3 separate regions of the Homo sapiens genome follow, and all the other regions are linked to region 2. Evidence: promoter capture Hi-C in 16 types of primary human blood cells and fetal thymus (Javierre and others, 2016). All regions are on one chromosome and are shown on one strand. Each heading gives the region's core, a stretch centred on a gene start or on the middle of the fragment in contact. The rest is flanking DNA. Distances are from core to core; before and after follow the strand shown.

What was found. Contacts are between HindIII fragments. The CHiCAGO score rates a contact against its expected background, and 5 or more counts as called.
Region 1: a fragment that was not itself captured here is called in contact with the fragment with the promoter of ZC3H18 in region 2 in 1 of 17 cell types (endothelial precursors); the score reaches 9.4 in endothelial precursors.
Region 3: a contact is called between a fragment that was not itself captured here and the fragment with the promoter of ZC3H18 in region 2, in 8 of 17 cell types (naive B cells, neutrophils, total CD4 T cells and 5 more). The highest score is 9.2, in naive B cells.

The regions. Positions count from the first base shown.
Region 1 is chr16:87,968,974-87,973,360 of GRCh38, reverse strand. The region is part of intron 1 of BANP (BTG3 associated nuclear protein); the gene reads right to left. Among named protein-coding and RNA genes, the nearest start is that of BANP, 20 kb to the right of the region's middle. The HindIII fragment of the contact is 1,063 bases long and covers 2,015-3,077 here.
Region 2 is chr16:88,568,089-88,572,003 of GRCh38, reverse strand. ZC3H18 (zinc finger CCCH-type containing 18) reads right to left here and starts at 1,601. Exons shown (of 18, transcript NM_144604.4): 1 at 1,438-1,601. RefSeq lists enhancers at 1,011-1,060, 2,151-2,200, 2,311-2,420 and silencers at 1,331-1,400, 1,581-1,910. The HindIII fragment of the contact is 17,903 bases long and covers 364-3,915 here.
Region 3 is chr16:89,221,508-89,225,579 of GRCh38, reverse strand. ZNF778 (zinc finger protein 778) reads right to left here. Exons shown (of 7, transcript NM_001201407.2): 3 at 3,397-3,488; 4 at 2,297-2,423; 5 at 778-861; 6 at 1-25. Among named protein-coding and RNA genes, the nearest start is that of ZNF778, 5.8 kb to the right of the region's middle. The HindIII fragment of the contact is 7,033 bases long and covers 1-4,072 here.

The sequences.
Region 1 (4,387 bases), core at 1,297-3,796, 600 kb after region 2:
TCAATAAAATAGCAAAGGTGTTTTTATTCCCACATTATAACTTTACACAAGATTAGATGAACTGAGGAAACATCAATCAACTGTCCCTAACAAAAAAAAAAGAGCTGATGACAAATAACTGGAGGGGGAGACACAAAGCCTCAGAGGCACCAGCGCTGAACCTCTAAAAAGTCCAGCTGGGAAAGACGGAATGAGACAGATGTTTAATCTCCCTAAATCCTCCCATACAGACACACAGACCTCCAAGGATAGCAAAACCAAAATCCAAGTCAACACCGACAACAGAACGAGGTGACAGCATATTCCTCAAGAACCCCAAACACAAGCAGATGGGGACACTGGAAGCCACAAGGTCAGCATGGCACACGGGCATAGGATGGAGGAAGCAAAGGGAAGCAGGAGCCAGGCCGAGAGCAGCAGCTGCAGGATCCACCAGGAGAACCACACAGGGGCCTGCAGGGCTGACCCAGAGGCCAGAGTGTTCTGGACCCCAAGCCCTCTCAAAACGCATTATCCAAAGCTCCCTTTTAGGCCAAATACATTGAAAAGAAACGGCTTGGAACTGAACACAAAATGTGCAGGGCACGGAAACTAGAGACAAAGGAACATGAAAGCTCATTAAAGGTGGGAGGGGAGAACAGAGCCTAGAGAGCTGAGAAAAGAAGCTGCTGTATTTTTAAAACTTCCTATAAACAACACAGGAAAGAACCCAAAACACTGAAATTAGAGAAACGATTCTAAACCAAGCCTCCCTTCTGAGCATTCAGAAAAGCAAAAATCATATAAAAATGAGCAACAGAAACTACTGAGGCCAAATATCATGCAAAAATCATGTATTTCTTAAAAGAATAAGAAGCAAAATAACATCACTGCAGACAATGAAAACATTCTAGAAACATATATCCCCCAAAAAGACGAAAACTAAAAAGAAAAAAAAAACTATACCCTGATAATTCAAAACAAACTGAAATACATTAAACACATAACACACATTAACCAGAAACCAGCATTAGAAAAACTCAGAAACAAGGTGCTAGAACTCAGAATATATTAGAAACAAAAGAAAAAGTAACTTCAGAAATGAAGATTAAACTAGAAGAACCTTAGAACAAATAAACACAATGGTGCCTTAAGAAAAATAAAATGACAAAATTTTCAAGAATAAAAAAGAAATGAAAGAGATGAAAAAAGCTCAAGAAAAAGTAGCACATAAGACAGGAAAAGAAGACCCAACATATGTATAATAGGAGATGCTAAAGATGAAAACTGGCCAGGCACAGTGGCTCATGCCTGTAATCCCAATACTTTGGGAGGCTAAGGCAGGAGGACCATTTGAGGTTGATAGCTCAAGAGCAGCCTGGGCATGTACCGAGACCCCGACTCCATAAAATATTTTTTAAATTAACTGGGTACAGTGGCACCTGCCTGTGGTCCCTGCTACTCAGGAGGCTGAGGTGGGAAAATCACTTGAGTCTGGGAGGGCAAGGCTGTGGCAAGCTGTGATCGCACCACTACACTCCACCCTGGACAACAGAACGAGACCCTGTCTCGAAAAAAGGAAAACTAAAGCAATGAAATGGAATACCAAAAACTGTAATTCAAGAAAGCTCTCCAGAAAACAGGACGGAGGGTGCTTGAAACTACTCGTTAAAATAATACACTACAACCTAGGGGGAAAAAAACAAAAACAAAACCACCAACACCAAGACACAACACCAAGATACAACACCAAGACAGAACACCAAGATACAGCCCAATAAAAACACTATTTAAAGAAAAATTTTTTAGCCATCCAAGCAAAAGACTAGGTGACTTATAACGGAAAGAAAATTAACTATCAAACTCCAACAGAAAAAAAAAAGGATTAACGTATTTAAGACACACAAGGAAAGATATGTGAGCCAAGAATTTTATATCCAGACAAAATTACTTTCAAGTATAAAGGCAGCATCCAGTCCTCAGAGAACAGTATTCCCAAAAATTCCCTCCTGAAGGCACTGGCAACAAACAAGCTTCGGAAAACCAAACCACTGGAGAGGCATTGGGAAGAGCGGCTAGCGGAGCACCCTATCTCCACGCAGGACTGAGACAGAGGAGATGAAGGCTATGTGCTAAACGCAGACACAATGTAACTGCTTGAAACTGGGAGGAATTGGGAGTACATATAAAAAACAAATGTAACAACTTTCAAAAACAAAAACCAATGTTACAATGTTCACAATGTTCAATGGCTATAAGGAGTGGTAGAGTTCTTTCTGAGCAATTTTCAAAAACTAACAAAAACAAATGTTACAATGTTCATTCAGTGGCGGTAAGAAGTGGTAGAGTTCTTTTTTTTTTTTTTGAGATGCAGTCTCACTCTGTTGCCCAGGCCAGAGTGCAGTGGCAGGATCTCGGCTCACTGAAACCTCCGCCTCCTGGGTTCAAGCGATTCTCCAGCCTCAGCCTCCCGAGTAGCTGTGATTATAGGTGCCCACCAGCACACCTGGCTACTTTTTGTATTTTAGTAGAGACGGGGTTTCCCTCTGTGGCCAGGCTGGTCTCAAACTCCCGACCTCAGGTGATTCGCCCACCTCAGCCTCCCAAAGTGCTGGGATGACAGGCCGAGCCACCGCGCCCGGCCGGTAGAGTTCTGTCTGAGGACGCCTTGCCTTGTGTGCAATTCTGTCATCCCTGATGCCCTTGTGAACAAGAAAAGCAGACTATCAACAACGGTAACAACTTCACTGGGTTGAAAGGGAAATATTTTTAAATTCATGAGTTAATAATATTATTAAGCCTTTAATTTGTTTAATGGTAATAAAAAGAAAAAATCAAGCATTTATTCTGCCTTTCTATACAAATCACGTCACTGAAAAACCACATCATAAGCAATAGAATGTTTCTCTGTATAAAAGCATTCTAACAAAAGAACAGTCATCGTTTTGCAATCCCTGATGAATTAAGAATCTAGGTAACAGAGTTACCATCAGAAAAAGAAAAACACACACTATCTGCCTCATTAATGAAGAATTCAGCACCATCTATGTGGGAGGCTCCCCTACCGAACAAACAAAAATGCTGAATCTAATTAAGCTTCTAGAATCCTAACATTTCCTAAGTGACAGGATATACAGAGGCCAGAAGAACATGCTAAACTATACCACAGAAATGCAAATAGGAAAATCAAAATCAAGACTAGGAAACTCACATCTGTCATCCCAGCACTTTGGAAGGCCAAGGCGGGTGGATCACCTGTCAGCCTGGCCAATGTGGCAAAACCCCATCTCTACTAAAAATACGAAAATTAGCAGGGTATGGTGGCACATGCCTGTAATCCCAGCTACTAAGGAGGCTGAGAAAGGAGAATCGCTTAAACCCGGGAGGCGGAGGTTGCAGTGAACTGAGACCGTGCCACTGCACTCCAGCCTGAGTGACAGAGCAAGACTCTGTCAAAAAAAAAAAAAAAAAAGACCAATCAACCTAATCAAAAATGAGCATAAGGAAATGAAAATGAATTCACAGAAAAACAAGTTATGTAAAGATAGTCAGGCCAGGCGTGGTGGCTCATGCCTGTAATCCAGCACTTTGGGAGGCTAAGGTGGGTGGATCAAGAGGTCAGGTGTTCGAGACCAGCCTAGCCAACATGGTGAAAGCCCGTCTCTACTAAAGATACAAAAAATTAGACGGGGATGGCGGCGCGTGCCTGTAATCCCAGCTACTGAGGAGGCTGAGGCAGGAGAATCGCTTGAAATGGGGAGGCAGAGGTTGCAGTGAGCTGAGATCACGCCATTGCACTCCACACTGGGTGACAGGGGGAGACTCTGTCTCAAAAAAAAAAAAAAAAGTCAATCTCGATGTGTAATCTTTTTAAAACAATTTAAACAAGACAACATTTTTCACCAATCAGATTGGCAAAAATCACAAAATATGACACACTTCGCCAGAAGATATCAGAAAACATGGCTGTTGCGCTTTTGCTGGGGGTGTAAATGGGTACAACCTCTTTGAAGGGCAATAGCTATCAAAATGCTAAATGGCCACAGCCCTTAACCTGGCCATGCCCCACACAACATTCAGCCAGCACAGACATTCACATATGTGTGCAAAGACCTACATACAAACAACAACAACAACAACAACAACAACAAAACAACGTAAGGCATTGTTTTTAGCAGCAAAAGAATGGATGTCAGCATTGCATAGCTAAGAATGGAATATACCACGCAGCTTCAGGAGTCAACAAGAGCCCCCGAAAAGCGGCTCCCAAGGTGCAGGATCCCGTGAATATCAACTGGGCAGGGCAGTGTGGACGAGGGCAGTGCAGACGACATGCTTTATTTTTAAGAAGTATGTCAGATATGCACAGAATATTTCCAGGTTAAGATACAGAAGACCTACAACAGCC
Region 2 (3,915 bases), core at 352-2,851:
CATTTTTACTACCACAACAGGAGTTCTAAAGAGATTCTGGCAAAGAAGCACCGATGAAATACAAGCACATTTTGGGACAATTACTTTCAACAGAGCAGTACCTATTTGAATGCCTAAGTTCTGGTACATCTGGTTAAAATTCTGACTCATAACCTCATGGACTTAAAATATCTAAATGAACGTTATCAAGGTTGGTGACAGACCCCACGTGCAAAGTGACCAAGCGTGACCACTAAACTCCTTGATAAAGAGGTACTCACCTTGAGATGCTCTGTAGCTGTGACAAAATACAAATCTCTGTAAACACGATGTAGGCCATAGGTTAACTTACCTGTTTGCTTTCTGGAGTGACTCCACAAAGCTTTCTTACAATATTTCAGCATGTCCCACCTACAACGGGAGAGGAGTTTCCGGCTTTGGGACACATTTGACTGGTTCCAGGGCTGGCTGGGCTCCATACTGCCCTTAGATAGTAAAATTATCAGGAAAAGACTCTCCTCCCAAAGCTGGGAAGCGGGATTCAGCCGAGGTCAAACCTCACCCGGATAATCCCAACTACTGAACGGGAAAGGACTACTCTACAGACAACAGGCTGGAGGTGAGTCTAACAGGAGACATGATGAGCACCTTGCTACACCCCAAACGGTACTTCAGATGCCAAACACTCTCTTCTTCCATTTTCCCAAATGGGTCTGAAGAATGACCTACTCTTGCAAATGAGTTAGCGTTGTTCGAACAAAGCTCATTTAAAACGGCCACTCTACCCGGCAAACTCAGTTGTCATAAAGTATTCAGGAAAAATGTTTGGCAGGAGTAAGGCTGTTAAGTTTCAGTTCTTCCAGCATTATAGCTGCAGTTGGTCTATATAAAGGACCCAGCACCTCTGATCTCCTAATCCAAGGGGCAAGGAAGTTACATACTCCTAAGAGACCGGCGCGCGTCTTGGGGCAATCACTGCGCCCAACCTGTGCACACTTTGAAGCTGCGGAGCAAGTTCCAGGAGGTTCATAAAGAGCTCAAAGTTCTCCGAAGAGCCCAGCAGCAGCCCGGGATGACCTACTCTGGAGGTGAATCTGGGCGCCTCTCACCGCCCCTTAGCCGGCGGCACACATGTGCCACGCGAGTGGCCCGGAAGAGAAATGACAGCTTCAGGAAAATAAACTCTGCCGCGGGGCGCGGAGGCAGCGCGCGAGGAGCTCGGGCGCCCAGGGCGCCCCAGGACCGCGGGGCCGGCTTACGGACGGAACTCGGGGTGGTGCCTGTCTCAAGGTCCCCTTCCCTGGGCCCGAGGGCCACGCTTCGGCCGGTGGGTCCGCACGGCCGGAGGCGCGCCGGGCTCCCGGGCCTCCCTCCCGCGGCCGCCGCCGCCGCCTCGGCGGCCTCCTCCTCCCGCCGCCGCCGGCCCGGCCTCCCGCCGCCCTCCCGGCCCCAGCTAACCTCAGCGCTAGGGCGGAGAGGAGGCCACGGCTCCCCTGGAGTCGGAGCGGCGTGGAGAAGACGTCCCTTGGCCCTTCCGCTCTTCACAGGTTCTGGCTCCAGGCTCGACACGGGCGGAACAAACGGGCTCCACTACCCGCGGGGGCCGGCCATTGTGCGACGTCATCAGGCCGCGACGGTAGTCCTACGGCCGGCGGGCTTCCCTCCCTCGCCCCGCCCCCTCCAGCTTCCTTCCGGCCTCCGCGCGGTTCCGCCCCCGCAGCGCGCGCCCGGACCCGCGCGAGCCAGCCGAACCCCCGCTACAGCGCAGGCGCCACGGGGAGTTCGCTTCTCAGGCGGCGGGCGTGCGGATCCGCGCCTGCGCACAGAGCTCCCCGCGGCCGCCGGGTCACGTGACGGGGCTCCGGCTGGGCCGGCGGGTTCTTCATCCCCGGGGATGATCGAGTTCATCAAAGTGGAAAACTTAAGGCGGTCTTCGTCGGGCTGATACTTCCTGCTTTATTGAATGTTGATATTAAATGCTTACCTCCGGAATTATTTTTTGAGGTATCGACTTTAGATTAAAAGCCTAACAATTCTTACCTTTCCCGTGGGCTGCCTGGCTCCCCGCGCGGTTCAACGCGAGCAGCGCCAGTGAGGGGACCTGTCGCGTGTCCTGCTCAGCGCGGTGTCCCACGGGCGCGTCCACAGCCCGGGGCGTCCAGGGGCTGCAGCGGTGCGAGCTGCTCTAGAGACGGAGGGCCCGGCCGGAGACCAGGGGCCGGCGGTTTCATCCTGCGCTGACCCTTGCCAACGACGTGGCTGGTCCTGGGGATCACAGGGCTTCGCTCATCCCATCTTCCTCCATATCCCCAAGGTGGAAACAAGGGGGCGAGATGTCCACAAACTGAGGAACAGACAAAATGCTGGCTGTCCATGCAGTGGAGTGTGAGTCAGTCATCAAGAAGAGTGAAGTTCAGACCCATGCCACAACATGGGTGAACCTTGGAAACATACTAAGTAAAGCAAGCCAATCGCAAAAGGACAAAACCTGTGCGACTCCATGCTATGGACCGAGTTCTGTCCCCCTAACATTTGTATGTGAAGCCTTAATCCCCAATGTGACTGTGTTTGCAGAAAGGGCCTTTAGAGAAGTAATTAAGGTTAAATGAGATTATAAGGGTGGGGTCCTGATCTGATAGGATTAGTGTCCTTGGAAGAGGTACCACAGGCCTGGCACTGTGGCTCACACCTGTAATCCTAGCACTTTGGGAGTCCAAGGTGGGAGGACCACCTCCTCCAGGAGTTTGAGACCAGCCTGGGCAACAAAGCAAGACCCCTGTCTCTACAAAAAAATTAACAGGGCACCGTGGTGCGTGCCTGTAGTCCCAGCAACTTGTTATGGTTACGTAAGAGGAATGTGAATTCAACCCTGGTGATTTTGGGTCGTGTCAGGAGCAGCCCTGCGACACCAGTTGGCACCTTCTGCAGACTCTATGTGTCGATAAGACAAGGTCCCACCCAGCAAGTGCCCTTTTCTCAGCTGATGAACATAAGCCTGCATGGACGTTACTGTCCATGGAAAGGAGCGGCCGGCACCGGCTGTGACAGACACGTGCCTGTCTGCGATCTGAGTTTCATGAACAGTAAACTCTGTTGGTCACAGCCTCTTTGGAAAACAATGTTAGTTAAAAGAAGTGCCCTGTGACCAGCAGTGCCACCCTCGACAGGGTTCTCCAAGTGGGACCCGGGCAAGCAGCCTCAGTATCACTAGGGGTTGTTAGCAATGTGCCTTCCTGGGCTCTGCCCCAGAGTGGCCGCACCAGTGACTGGGAGTGAGGTCCCAGGGCCCTGTGGTCCATGAAGAGCTCTCAGGGGATTCTGATGCCCAGTGGTACAGGTGGGCCACCGGACTGGGGTGTCATCTGCCCGTGGGCATGAGACATGAACAAGGACATAGCAGGTCTGTTAGTAGTCATAACTAAAAGAACAAAGGAGCCGGGCACGGTGGCTCATGCCTGTAATCCCAGCACTTTGGGAGGTCGAGGCGGGCAGATCGCGAGGTCAGGAGATCGAGACCATGCTGGCTAACACAGTGAAACCCCGTCTCTACTAAAAATACAAAAAATTAGCCGGGCGTGGTGGCGGGCGCCTGTAGTCCCAGCTACTCGGGAGGCTGAGGCAGGAGAATGGCATGAACCCGGGAGGCGGAGTTTGCAGTGAGCCCAGATCATGCCACTGCACTCCAGCCTGGGCAACAGAGCGAGACTCCGTCTCAAGAAAAAAAAAGAACAAAGGAAAAAACCAGAAAACCACCCAGATGTTGATGAGCAGATGATTGTACTGTTGTAATAGTAATCTGGTACAACATTTGCAACATCGCGGTTGTTAAAAATGCTAACGCATGAACCTCCAGTGTGTATACACAGATATAAATAAACGGGTGAAGACCATCTGTGAGGTTGCATGACAAAGGCAAGTGCAGAAGCAGACAGGGTG
Region 3 (4,072 bases), core at 1,104-3,603, 650 kb before region 2:
GGCCCTTTGGTTTTAAGTCGCCATTCTGAAAAGAAAGAAGAATGACCTAAAAACGATCAAACTCATTGGTATTTGTTTTCATATAAGACATGGCAGAAAAAAAAACAAAGCAAAGATAGATTTAAGGAGTTTGGCTATGTGTAAAATTTGGAATCATAGGAACTGGGAGTCATAATTTAGAAGATTTTAAAATACATTTGGTCCATAAAGAAGAAATGTGAGGTGAACAGAAACAATATTATCAATGAAAGAAAGCAGGAAAGAGCTGGACAAAGGGCATACATTCAAAACACAAACTTGGCCAGGCGTGGCAGCACGCACCTGTAATCCCAGCTACTCAGGAGGCTGAGGCAGAAGAACTGAGTGAACCCAGGAGGCAGAGTTTGCAGTGAGCCAAGATTGTGCCACTGCACTCCAGCCTGGGCAACAGAGCAAGACTCCGTCTCAAAAAAAAAAAAAAAAAAAAAACCCACAAACTGAAAGAACAAAACAGCAGGTTTTTTATGAGATCACAAGAAAGGGAAAATCCAGATCAGATGGAAAATAAGGAATTACGGGAAGCTCAGGATACCCAGAGCCAACAGCCTCATGTTCTGTGCCAGAATGCATCTTAAAACGTGCACTCAGGATTCTTCCACAGCCGCTAAACTCGACACTCAGGATCCTCCCACAGCCGCTTAACTTGACACAATCCTTCCATAGCCGCTAAACTTGACACTCAGGATCCTCCCACAGCTGCTAAACTTGACATCGACCAGGCGTGCTCTTCACACTTACCTTGGAGAACTGCTCTCCGCCCTGCCCTCAACTCCTCTTCCTGCTCCAGCCAATAGATCACACTGGGTTGGAACAGGTGATGTCCTGTACACAGGGAAAGAGACATCGATGGAAGAGGCTCAGGCAGGGGATGACAAACCTACCCGTGAACAGGAACTACATTTCCTTTTTTTTATTATTTTTTGAGACAGCGTCTCGCGCTGTTGCCCAGGCTGGAGTGCAGTGGTGCAATCTCGGCTCACTGCAACGTCTGCCTCCTGGGTTCAAGTGATTCTCTTGCCTCAGCCTCCTAAGTAGCTGGGACTATAGGTGCCCGCCACCACGCCTGGCTAGTTTTTTGTATTTTTAGTAGAGATGGGGTTTCACCGTGTTGGTCAGAATGGTCTCAATCTCCTGACCTTGTGATCCGCCCACCCCGGCCTCTCAAAAGTGCTAGGATTACAGGCATGAGCCACTGCGTCTGGCGTCCCAGAGTGCTCGGATTACAGGCGTGAGCCACTGCGCCCAGCCTCCCAAAGTGCTGGGATTACAGGCATGAGCCACTGCGTCCAGCATCCCAGAGTGCTGGGATTACAGGCGTGGCCACCACACCCTGCCTCCCAGAGTGCTGGGATTACAGCCCTGAGCCACTGCGCCTGGCCTCCTAGAGTGCTGGGATTACAGCCCTGAGCCACTGCACCCAGCCTCCCAGAGTGCTCGGATTACAGCCCTGAGCCACTGCACCCAGCCTCCCAGAGTGCTCGGATTACAGCCCTAAGCCACTGCGCCTGGCCTCCCAGAGTGCTGGGATTACAGCCCTGAGCCACCGCGCCCGGCCTCCCAGAGTGCTGGGATTACAGCCCTGAGCCACTGCACCCAGCCTCCCAGAGTGCTCGGATTACAGGCATGAGCCACCGCGCCCGGCCAGGAACTACGTTTGTTTTTTTTTTGAGATGGAGTCTCGCTCTGTCACCCAGGCTGGAGTGCAGTGGCATGCCAGGAACTACATTTCTAAAGAATGCAGTGAAATTGTTTCAAAAGGGCTCAAAGTGCAAATACTCCATCCTTCTGCGCCCCAAAGAAACTGGTTATCTCTGATTCCTGAAGCCCACATTCAGGCTTAAATATACACGTAAAAACCACAAAGACTCTTACTCAAATAGGAAATAACAGAAGTGCAATAAGAGATCTTCATTCACTTGGGAAACTACTACCCAGTGGTTCTCAGTGTTAGAGTGAATTGGCATCGTCGGGAGGGCTTGTTACAGGAGAGATGACAGGCCCACCCCCAGGAGACATTCTGATCCAATGTGTCCCAGCTGAAGCCTCAGAATGCATGTTTCTAGAGGAGTGACGGTGATGCTCATGACCCCAGGACCACATTCTGGAAACGACCACACTAGCACCAAGCCTACTAGCACAGTTGTTATATCTCTTACTTCCCGTGGTACTCGGCTTTGCCGTCACCAACCCTGGAACACAGTAAGGACACATCAAGTATTGGTTCCACAGAAGTTGCAAAGGACGGTGGCAGCCTCACCTACTGAGGCCAGGTTCTCGTAGTTTTCCAGCATCACATCTCTGTAGAGGTCTCTCTGAGATGGGTCCAGTAAAGTCCATTCCTCCTGGGTGAAGTCCACAGCCACGTCGTCAAAGGTCACCGCGTCCTAAATCATCACACATGACGGTTGGAGCCTTCCAACGTGTCCATCGGTATTCACTGAAGAATGAGGAGGCGGGGCCCTACGCCTATGGGACTGTGAGGCCTCCTACTGTCTACCCCATGGCCCAGTGGTCCCAGGAACCCTTCTCTGCCCGCACACACGCCCTGTCGCTCTCCTCCAGTCACGCGCACCCTGTCGCTCTCCTCCAGTCACGCGTGCCCTGTCGCGCTCCTCCAGTCACGCGCACCCTGTCGCTCTCCTCCAGTCACACGGCCGCAACGACACCTCTAACATGTGAGCTTCTCTCACCACGCTCACTGGGCACTCCCCTCGCCTTATGTCCCTCTCCTGAGCACACTACAAACAAGTGGTAACTCGTGATGTGGAAATAAGTTCCCAGAGAGGATACCTTCCCCTTCCTTACCATGTGTCAGAGCACTAAGCAAAGTACGAAACACGCATTTGGCACAAGGGTGAAAATAATGAGTAATGTTGTGGCTGGGCGCAGTGGTGCAAGCCTGTAATCCCAGCCCTTTGGGAGGCCAAAGCGGGTGGATCACTTGAGATCAGCAGTTCAAGACCAGCCTGGCCAACATGGCAAAACCCCGTCTCTACTAAAAATACAAAAATTAGCCAGGCATGCTGGTGGGCACTTGTAATCCCAGCTACTTGGGAGGCTGAGGCAGGAGAATTGCTTGAACCTGGGAGGCGGAGATTGCAGTGAGCCGAGATTGGGCCATTGCTCTCCAGCCTGGGCGACAAAGCGAGACTCCGTCTCAAAAAAAAAAAGTAACACTGAAATACGGGGAGGATTTTCACAGTAACACCTGACCAGCCAGGCTCTTCTCCCTGGAGGCGTTCAACTAGGGACTCGGTCCTTGAGTGAGGCTGTGCAGACAAGTCTGCTCAGACAGAAACTTGTCTATCTGCTGAATACCAGTATGTTATTTTAAGAAAAAATACAGTTTTGGCATACCTGGTAACAATTTATCAGCCAGCCAGCCACCATCCCTGCTGCCTGTGTCTGTTCTTCATGAAGGCAGACTGAGTCCCTAGAAACATGACCTCCTAAAAAACAAAGAAGGCAAGAAGGCATGAGAACCCAGAGCTGACCCTAATTCCACACTCATGGACCCGGAAGTCATTCCATCCTAGCAGGAAATTATCACGTACTCCTGCACACTCAGGAAAACGCACACACACAGATATACAGTGTCAGGGAATTCCCACATACACCTGCACACTCAGGAAAACACACACACAAAGCCATACAGTACCTCAGGAAAACACACACACACACACAGCCATACACTTCCTCAAGAAAACACACACACACACAGCCATACACTGCCTGAGGAACACACACACACACACACAGTCATACAGAGCGAGGGAATTCCCATGTACTCTTGCACACTCAGGAAAAGACACACACAGCCATACAGTGCCTCAGGAAAACACACACATACAGCCATAAACTGCCTCAGGAAAATACACACACACACAGCCATACAATGCCTCAGGAAAATATAGTCCCTCAGGAAAATACACACACACACACACACACACACACACAGCCATACAGTGCCTCAGGAAAACACACACACAGAGCCATACAGTGCCTCAGGAAAACACACACAGACACACACACA